Linked DNA regions of Homo sapiens: all the other regions are linked to region 1. Evidence: promoter capture Hi-C in 16 types of primary human blood cells and fetal thymus (Javierre and others, 2016). All regions are on one chromosome and are shown on one strand. The core of a region is centred on a gene start or on the middle of the fragment in contact, and the rest is flanking DNA. Distances in the headings are between cores, read along the strand shown.

Region 1 (3,136 bases), core at 408-2,907:
CACTTCCGGAAAATGGGACTGAAGAGAGAGAAACTGCAGAGCCAGCACAGCACCATCTCATCGTGGGGAGCTCTGGATGAGAAAGTATATGATAAAGAAGAATAAACAAGGGACACTGTTGAAGAGTTTCTGTTCACAAATATCTCACCCATTTATTCTACCAATTGGATGTTAATTTTGCTTTAAAAAAACCCTTTTAGTAAATATATTCTTGCAGGGTTAAAACCAGTGGTTCTTCATACCTTTACTTTGAGTAACTATAACTAAATTGTCTACAACTTAAATAAACTTTTGGGAGAATGTATGCTTTAATTAGTTGTTTTGATTGAACCATGGAACATTTCAGAGTAAAAACCATAAAGGTCTCTAAACAACCCGAGAACAGAATGACTGAGAAAGGCGGAATGATGAGATATTAAGGAAGGGCAAGGCTGGGGAAAGGAAGTGAAAAAATACTTACAGTTTTACCACAGAAAAATGAGAAGTTATAATTCAGTGATCTTGAAGTTTCCTTCCCGCTCTACAATTCTATGACAGTTGTTATGCAAAAAACGAATGTCTTACACATAAAAACTTATATGCTATATTTTCCTTCCTGGAATCTATATCATCCAACTGCTAAAGCAAAAGAGCTCCTTTTTCTACTCCAACAACATAAAAGAGAATAATTTATTAAAACTAGTTCCAGAGGACATAAAGAAAACCAAAGGGTAGAAATCATAGGGAGGTAAGCATCTTCCAAATAAAGAAATTAATAACACACCCTCGAATACTTTGATAATCAGTATTTGATAACTGAGTGAAATCTGGGGTCCAAAGAGATATACAGATCATTGGGATGGTTGAGAATTTCTCCCTTTGCAAAGAACACACCAAATAAGAACCCTCATCTGCCAGAGGTGAGAAAAAGTGATGAAAAGAGAGAATATTGCCCCACCAGCCTCAAGGCATTCAAGTTCCCCGGCATTCGGTCCTTAGTCCCTTCCCATTTGTCACCTTATTATTTTCCTGTCCACCCCTGCATCATCCACCTGTCACGTCTGTCTCCACAGTCACCTCTACAGACTTTTTTCACACTTTCCCTTCCTGTCTGCTGGTCTCAACGCTCTCTGTCCAGGGTTTACCCACATTTGCTCTACTCCGATTCCTTCCACCGACCCCCTAAGACTCCGAGCAGGTTAGAGGATCGCGCTGCCTCCCCCCTCCCCGCCCCGTAGTCTCCAACAGTGTAAGGGGTACTGTGGGAACAAAACCCAGAGGGGTTTGTGCCTCTTCACCCCCATCCCGGGAGGCTCCCCCTCTATCCCCGGATGGTCCTCACTCACAGCGCACAGTGTGGAAGGCGCAGCGCGGCTGCTTCTCGAAACTCTCCCCTAACTTGAGAACCCGCTCGCGACGGTCTAGGTGTGAGAATCCCGCTGCGCTATTCATAATTACTCTCCTGCTTTGACTTTAACTCCGCCACCAGCGCTCACTATCTGCCACCTCAGCCTGAAGCAGCTGCACTTGATCCCGCCAGCCAAGTCACCCAGACTCCACCCCGCGCTCGACGCGCACCGCCCCACCGGAGCGTCTCACGTTCTGATTGGCTTATTAGCAAAGGGCGCTCCGCCCCTTGACTCCGAGGCTCCTAGTCCCGCCTCCAGGCCCCTTCCCGCGTCGCGACGCACGCTGCCCCGGAAGGCCGCGGCGCTGTAGTGCGGCGTGGGAGCCCCAGGTTCTTTAGTGGAAGAACGCGAAGCGAGGATGAGGTAACTTATCTGAGGTGGTGGCTGGGGAGGGAGAGGGCCCCAGGGCGCCTACCAGGAGGCCAGGACCCCAGGCTCCTGGACGAAGTCAGCCGGCTTGTAAGAGCTCTTAACGGGAGAATCGGCCTGCCCTCACGCCCACTCTGTAGAGATCTGGTGTGGAAACTGAGGCCTGGGGAGGTGCAGTGTCCAGGCACAGGGCCTAGTGTCTTATCCAAGGCCTGGTAGCGCGAAAGCCGGGTCTAGAATCTGGAGTAAAGGAGCCCAGAGGCCCCAGAATCTCGGTCCTTAGACTTGAAGCGACGCTGTTACCTCAGTAATCGTTTTCTGACCTTTTTGTACCAGAGGAAGTTTCTTGTGGTCCTAGGACTGGAGAAGGGGATGTGTAGTGGGGAGGAGAAAGAGGATTCGGAGATAGCAACTGCAGACATTTAGGATCAGCCGCAACAGGATCGCACTGAATTTCCTTTTCATTTATTTTCCTCACAGTGATCCGTGGAGGCAGTAACAGGCGCGGCGAGGGAGAAGTGATTCCCGAAGAATCAAGGCTGGGCCGGACCCGGTGGCCTGGCAACAGGGTAGTAGCCTTAAAATAGATAAATAATTGTCTTTTTGTGTCAAATTTCATGAATTTAATGTAAAGATGGGAGAAGTGTTGAATTATAGGAGAAACACTCGAGAAAGTTTACAGATGGTTTCCATAACAGGTGGTTTTTCAGGGTAATTACGCAATCCAACTGCACTCCCTCACCTTCTGCCTTAGGCACATTTGTCAATTGATTTTGGGGTAGGTGGTTATGTCTCCTTCAACCTGTCTGTGTAAATCCTACCCTTTGAAGGTGTGCCGAAGCTGTTTCATATCGTAGTTAAATGCTTTAAGGCAGATGGTGGCTCTAGTTTGAACCCCTGCTTTATACTTAACAGTGTGACTTTGTGCCAGCTAATTACATTCTCCAGAGTTTAAGTATGCTCATTGTTCAAATTGGGAAAAAAATAATAGTATCTGTTCCTTAGAGTTGTTGGAATGATTAAATGAGTTAATACATGAAAGCAATTAGAACAATTCCTGGAGCATGATAAGAGGTCTCCAAATGGTTATTTAAGGCCCAGCTCTACACTTATACTACATTTTAAGACCATCTTGGTGGCTGCCTTCTCTTCTAAATAGAATCATTCTAGGAGGTAGGAATTGCTATTTTGTTTACAGCAAGAAAAATGGTTCAGAGAAGCCCAGTCCTCTGACTTTATGGCCTGTATTCTTATCTGTGTCATCTATTTAGCATTTAACATATATCTGATATTCTTAAGTATATTTTTTTGTATCTGTGTGTGTGTACACATGTACATAAACATACTTTTCTTTCCCAACCAGAACAATAGCAGAGAGT
Region 2 (3,136 bases), core at 195-2,694, 1.8 Mb before region 1:
TGCCTTAGAGATCTGTGGAACTTTAAACTTGAGACAGATGATTTAGGGTATCTGGTAGAATAAACTTCGAAGCACCAAAGCATTCAAGATGTCACATGGCTTTTTCTGAAAGCAAACGGTCACATGCGTTCACAAGGAGATGATCTGAAATTGGAACTTATGTTTAAAAGGGAAGCAGAGCATAAAAGTTTGGAAAATTTGCAGCCTGACCATGCAGTAGAAAACAAAGACCCATTTTCCAGGGAGATATTCAAGCAGGCTGCAGGAATTTGCACAAGTAACAAGGAGCTGAATGTTAATAGCTGAGACAATGGGGAAAAATGTCTCCAGGGAATTTCAGAGATCTTCAGGACAGCCCCTCCCATCACAGACCTAGAGGCCTAGGAGGGAAAAATAGTTTCCTGGGCTAGGCAGGCCCAGGGCTCTACTGCTGTGTGCAGCCTCAAGACATGGTGCCCTGTGTCCCAGCCACTCCACCTCATGGCTAAAAGGGGCCAAGGTACAGCTTGGGCCATTGCTTCAGAGGGTACAAGCCCCAAGCCCTGGCAGCTTTTATGTGGTGTTGGGCCTGCAAGTGTGCAGAAGCCAAGAGTTGAGGTTTAGAAACCTATGCCTAGATTTCAGAGGATGTATGGAAATGACTGGATGTCCAGTCAGAAGTCTGCTGCATGGGCGGAGCCCTCATGGAGAACCCCTACTAGTGCAGTGCAAAAGGGAAATGTGGGGTTGGAGCATCCACACAGAGTCCCCACTGGGGCAATACCTAGTGGATCTGAGAATAGGGCCACTGTCCTCCAGACCCCAGAATGGTAGATCCACCAACAGCTTGCACCCTGGACCTGGAAAAGCTTCAGGCACTCAACTCCAGCCCATGAAAGCAGCCTTTGGGACTGTACCCTGCAGAGCCACATGGCAAGAGCTGCCCAAAGCCTTAGGAGCTCACCTCTTCAATCAGCATGCACTGGATGTGAGACATGGAGTCAAAGGAGAGTATTTAAGAGGTTTAATATTTAATGACTGCCCAACCAGGTTTCAGACTTGCATGGGGCCTGTGGCCCCTTTGTTTTGGCCAATTTCTCCCATGTGGAATGAGAACATTTACCCAATGCCTGTACCCCCATTGTATCTTGGAAGTAACTAACTTGTTTTTGATTTTACAGGCTTGTAGGTGAAAGAGACTTGCCTTGTCTCAGATCAGACTTTGAACTTGGACTTTTGAGTTAATGCTGAAATGAGTTAAGACTTTGGGGTACTGTTGGGAAGGTATGATTGGAATAGCATGTGCAAATTCCCTGAGGCAAAAAAGGAGTACTGCTCGATGGAAGACCTAAGATGAGGCCAGTATGACTAGGAGGGGCATGGTGAGACTGAGGAGGCAGGTAGGGTCTAGTCTATGCAGATTTTTGTATACCATATTAAATATTTTATGCTTTATCCTAAGTGTCATCAAAAGCCATTTAAATATCTTCAGGGGTGGGGCAGAGGAAGGTAGTAGACACGAACAAGGTTGTATGTGGAAAAGATCACTTTGGCTGTACTGTAGAGCAGGGGTCCCCAACCTCTGGGCCACAGACTGGTACAGGTCCATGGCCTGTTAGGAACCCAGCCACACAGCAGGAGGTGAGCAGCAGGCAAGTGAGCATTACCACCTGATCTCCACCTCCTGCCAGACCAACAGCGGCATTAGATTCTCATAGGAACACGAGCCCTATCATGAACCATGCAGGCGAGGGATCTAGGTTGCAGGCTCCATCTAATGCCTGCTGATCTGAAGTGAAACAGTTTCATCCTGAAACCATTCCCTCCCCAGTCCATGGAAAAATTGTCTTCCATGAAACCAGTCCCTGGTGCCAAAAAGGTTGGAGATTGCTGCTATAAACAACAGACTGGAGTTGGGCCTAAGTGACTGCAAGAAGATACATTGAGTTTTAAACTGATTTCCAACTGAACAGAACTTTATGCATTCCTGCCTCCTCCTACTTTCCCATTAAGTAGATTATATTGAAAAAAAAATCAGTCAAATGAATGAAAGAAGCTTTTAGATGAATGATTATTTGGTTTTGTAAAATGGTTCACTTCTTTATTTCTTTTGCAAAGAAATTTTTTTGCCCTCTGATCACAGTGTGCAATTTGGGCTCACCAACTTGCTCTTTGAAAAATTCAGGAAGGTCGGGTGTGGTGGTTCATGCCTATAATCCCAGCATTTTGGGAGGCCGAGGCAGGTGGATCACCTGAGGTCACGAGTTCGAAACCAGCCTGGCCAACATGGCAAAATCCCGTCTCTACTAAACATACAAAAATTAGCTGGGCGTGGGGGCAGGCACCTGTAATCCCAGCTACTTGGAAGGCTGAGGCAGGAGAATTGCTTGAACCTGGGAGGCGGAGGTTGCAGTGAGCCAAGAGTGTGCCATTGCACTCCAGTCTGGGGGACAAGAGCAAGACTTCGTCTCCAAAAAAAAAAAATTTCAGGAAAACAAGGCAACAGAATCTCTGAACAATCTGCCATGGCGGGAAAGGATGGGACCCTGACAATTGTCAACTTATGCCTCTCACTTCATCTCTTGAGGTCTTGAAACTTCTTTTGCAAAAATTGTAACAGTGAGAAAATTATGACTGAGAGAGATCTGATCTAACCAGCCCCCACCTTGACTCTGTAAATCAAAGAACACGATCAAGGCAAGTCTCAATCATTTTAGGAGGTTTATTTGCCATAGTAAAGGATGCATGCCAGGGAGGCAGGTATATGCCTATCTCCAAAGATGATTTTGAGGGCTTCAGTACTTAAAGGGGAAAGGGTGGATACTGGGGGAAGAGAAATTTTTTTTTTTTTTTGAGACAGAGTCTCGCTCTGTCACCAGGCTGGAGTGCAGCGGCGCAATCTCGGCTCACTGCAACCTCCAACTCCAAGCGATTCTCTTGCCTCAGTCTCCCAAGTAGCTGGGACTACAGGCGCGCACCACCACACCCAGCTAATTTTTGTATTTTTAGTAAAGATGGGGTTTCACCATACTGGCCAGGCTGGTCTCAAACTCCTGACCTCCTGATCTGCCTGCCTGGCCTCCCAAAGTGCTGGGATTACAGGCGTGAGCCACCACGCCCAGCCAAGAAATATTTTTAAATTGTGTCAGTAGATAAA
Region 3 (3,136 bases), core at 459-2,958, 1.4 Mb before region 1:
CAGGGATATAGAAACTATCTATTCACTTGCTGCCTGGGTTCTAATCCTGGCTCCACCATCTACCAGCCATGTAAATTTGGACAAGCTTTGCCTTTCTATATCTCAATTTCCACATCTATATATTGTGGCTACTAATAGCATCTATCTCATAGGCTTGTTTTAAAGATGACAATAGTATCTATCTCATAGGATCATGTAAAGTGCCTGAAACATTGCCTTGTAACATGCTAAAAGCACTACATTAAATATTTGCTGTATTATTTATTGATTACTCTCCATGGACCACGCACTTTATACACATTACCTCATTTAAGCGTTCCAAAAACCTGTGAGATAGGTATTATTAGTTCCATTTTACCTTTGAGGAAATTCAAGCCCAGAAAGCTTGAGGAATTTTTTTTAATCCCTAAACGAGTAGGTGACAAAGTAGGGATTTAAACTCAGGCCCAATTCTAACAACTCTGTGAGACACTCAAGGAAGGTCACAGGCACCCCTGTGATAAGACCTAGGCCTCTTTCATATACCAACATAAGATATACTTCGATTTTAACCAGTTGCACGCAAAAAAAAAAAAAAAAAAAAAAAAAAAAAAAAAAGGCACTAAACAGATGTGATGGTTTTCAACATAGGAAATACCCGAATGTCCCATTACTTTAGGATATGGTCACAGGTGTCAGAGTCAAATACTGAATGAACCTTAATATATCAGAAATTGTAGGTACCGTTTAAGGCATTGCCTGATTCCTTACAATCTTAGCATGTAAGCAAATATCAGTAACATGGAAAGTGATTCAGAGTTTGAAAAGTGGCTGTTCCCCTGACTGAAGATCCCAACATCTCCAGTCTGGTGGCTGATACTTTTGCTCTGGGCTAGGCTTTGCCTTGGCTGAATAGGCATAGGAGGGACTGGTTCTCAAGCTCGCCCCCTGCCCCAGGTGGATGATCCAGGAAACTAAGCAGCAGGGAAAAATTATCTTAAGCTGTCTTCACTGGCAGAGAGATTCAAGCCAGCTGGGGCTTGTCCTTTTCTTTTGGAAGCCTCCTCCACTTGCCGAGCCAATTGCTCAGGTCTCCCTTCTGCCACATCGTTCCCAAAGTGACTCTTGAGACAGGGTCTCAAGAGATTTCCGTGAGCCAACGCGGGCAAATATCTGGGCTCAGGGCTCACTCCATCCCCACAAAACGTAAAGTAAGACACTGGTTCAAGTCCCATTCTGCCTAAAAGAAATAGGAAATGCCACCTCAAGCTCTCATGGGCCACCTACACAGGTAGATCACCGTGTTTCTGACACCTGGGCGCCAGGGAATCCCCACCACCATGCTGACAGCCAAGTGCGACTGTCCCTCCCCTTCAAACACTCCTTTCCTGGCTGCCCAACACCCGAGGCGGCTCAGACGAGGCGCAACCGCCGCCCGCCTGGCCCCAGAGAACCCTCAAGTCGAAGGGGACGGGGTCCCCGCTTGCCCGTCCCTCCAGAGCTCCGCGGCCCCGACTCCCATCCCAAAGGCACGGACTTGGCTCCTGCCCGTGGGGTAGGTCTTCAATCCCGAGGGCGAAGGCCGAGGCTGTGGCGAGAGGCAGGGAGCGGGAGGGGAGAGGCCGGCAGGGATTCGAACGACCCCTAAGAAAGGAAGAAGAGGACTGGGAGGGGCCGGGGAGTACCTGTCGAGACGGGACCCGCCGCTCCGAGTGACGCGCCCCGAAGTGCATTGTGGGGCCTGGGAGGGACCTTTCGGCGACGCTGCGGCGCGTCCAACGTGGCTCGCGCCCGCGGAATCAAACCACGCCCCCGTTCCCTCAGCTCACCCAGGCCAATCGGGTTCTGCAGGAAGGACACAACAACCCCCCAGCTCCCGGGGCCCTCCTTAGTCCCACCCGCTCCAGGAGAGATTGGCAGCTTCTCTCGCACCTGCGCCAGAAAAGTACAGCATCCTCTGATGACAGAACTACGTTGACTTCAGAAATAGGGCCAATCTCTTCCGCTCGCCGCCCTGTTTCTGCAGGCATTTTGTCTCTCACACGCGGCCCTACAGCAGACACTTATAAAGGGGACAGGGAGAAAAGCCCCCTCTGGGTGAGCAAGGAGAAGACCTGGCCCCGTCTATTCCCACACACAAGAAGGAAACTAACCATGGCAGAGAAGTGCCAGATGCTGACCCTGCGACCCCTTCCAGCCTTCGCATCGGTCATGCATTATTAAACAGGCATTTCCTGACTGTTTACCATGTGCCAAGCACCGTGTTAAGCACGGGGTTACAGGAGTGGACATAACACTTGATGGAATTTAAGGAGTAATTGGAGCAAGAGATATTAAAGCATAAATAGTTACAGAACTACAAATTGTCAGTATTGGGAGGGAAAATTAGTGGGTGCAATGATCAATTAATTTTGGACTATCAGGGAAAAGACTTCTGAATAAGTGCCTTTTAAGCGGCAGGCATATTGAAGAGCCTTAGAGAATGTTCCCCGCCAAGGAAATATTGTGTGAGGTTGTCGGGGCATGAAAGAACTTCTTGTGCTCTAGGAACTAAAAGGGAGTCAGTGTGGATGGAGTGTAGGGAGCAAGGAGAAACTTTGCCCGTTGACCTTAAGATATCTTCCAAAATACAGCCTGAAATCTGTAATGTGGCCAATAAGAGTCAGCATGGTCTGGCCCTTGTCTCATCTCAGCCCAAGGTCAATGGGCAGCTAATAAAGACTATTAAGTAGGATCCTATTTGCATATTTAAGAATCACTCAGGCTGTTTGTGGAGAATAGTGTGGAAAAGGGCAAGAAGGGCTGCTGGAAAGCCATTTGGAGGCAGTTGCGTCAGGCAAAGCCAGAAATGATGGGGCTTGAACTAGTGTAATGGGAGTTAGAGACAGAAAGAGGTAGATAATTTCAAGATATGTATAAATTAGAAATGGTATCCAAGGGACTTCATAACGGATTGGTTTGCCGGGAAGGGTCAACAAAAAGGAATATTAAGGATGACTCCTTAAGTAACTAGATGGATTAAGAAGCCATTTACTGACTCATGGAACACAGAAAGAGGAGCAAATGGTTTGGAATATGTTAAATTTGAAATGCCTATAAATGGAGATGTCAAGTAGATTTGGATATGTAGGTCTAGAGTTCAGAAGAAAGGCCTGAA

Evidence for each region. Contacts are between HindIII fragments. The CHiCAGO score rates a contact against its expected background, and 5 or more counts as called.
Region 2: a contact is called between a fragment that was not itself captured here and the fragment with the promoter of IQCB1 in region 1, in 1 of 17 cell types (naive CD4 T cells). The highest score is 6.6, in naive CD4 T cells.
Region 3: a contact is called between the fragment with the promoter of SEC22A here and the fragment with the promoter of IQCB1 in region 1, in 5 of 17 cell types (total CD4 T cells, non-activated CD4 T cells, naive CD8 T cells and 2 more). The highest score is 7.5, in total CD4 T cells.

Annotation. Positions count from the first base shown.
Region 1 is chr3:121,833,581-121,836,716 of GRCh38, reverse strand. It overlaps IQCB1 (IQ motif containing B1), which reads left to right and starts at 1,657. Exons shown (of 15, transcript NM_001023570.4): 1 at 1,657-1,751; 2 at 2,238-2,326. It overlaps EAF2 (ELL associated factor 2), which reads right to left and starts at 1,508. Exons shown (of 6, transcript NM_018456.6): 1 at 1,326-1,508. The coding sequence starts at 1,431. The HindIII fragment of the contact is 9,498 bases long and covers 1-3,136 here.
Region 2 is chr3:123,588,427-123,591,562 of GRCh38, reverse strand. All of the region lies in intron 2 of MYLK-AS1 (MYLK antisense RNA 1), which reads right to left. Among named protein-coding and RNA genes, the nearest start is that of MYLK-AS1, 4.5 kb to the right of the region's middle. RefSeq lists a silencer at 535-735. The HindIII fragment of the contact is 1,187 bases long and covers 851-2,037 here.
Region 3 is chr3:123,200,515-123,203,650 of GRCh38, reverse strand. It overlaps SEC22A (SEC22 homolog A, vesicle trafficking protein), which reads right to left and starts at 1,708. Exons shown (of 7, transcript NM_012430.5): 1 at 1,665-1,708. RefSeq lists enhancers at 1,622-1,671, 1,912-1,991, 2,002-2,151. The HindIII fragment of the contact is 4,922 bases long and covers 387-3,136 here.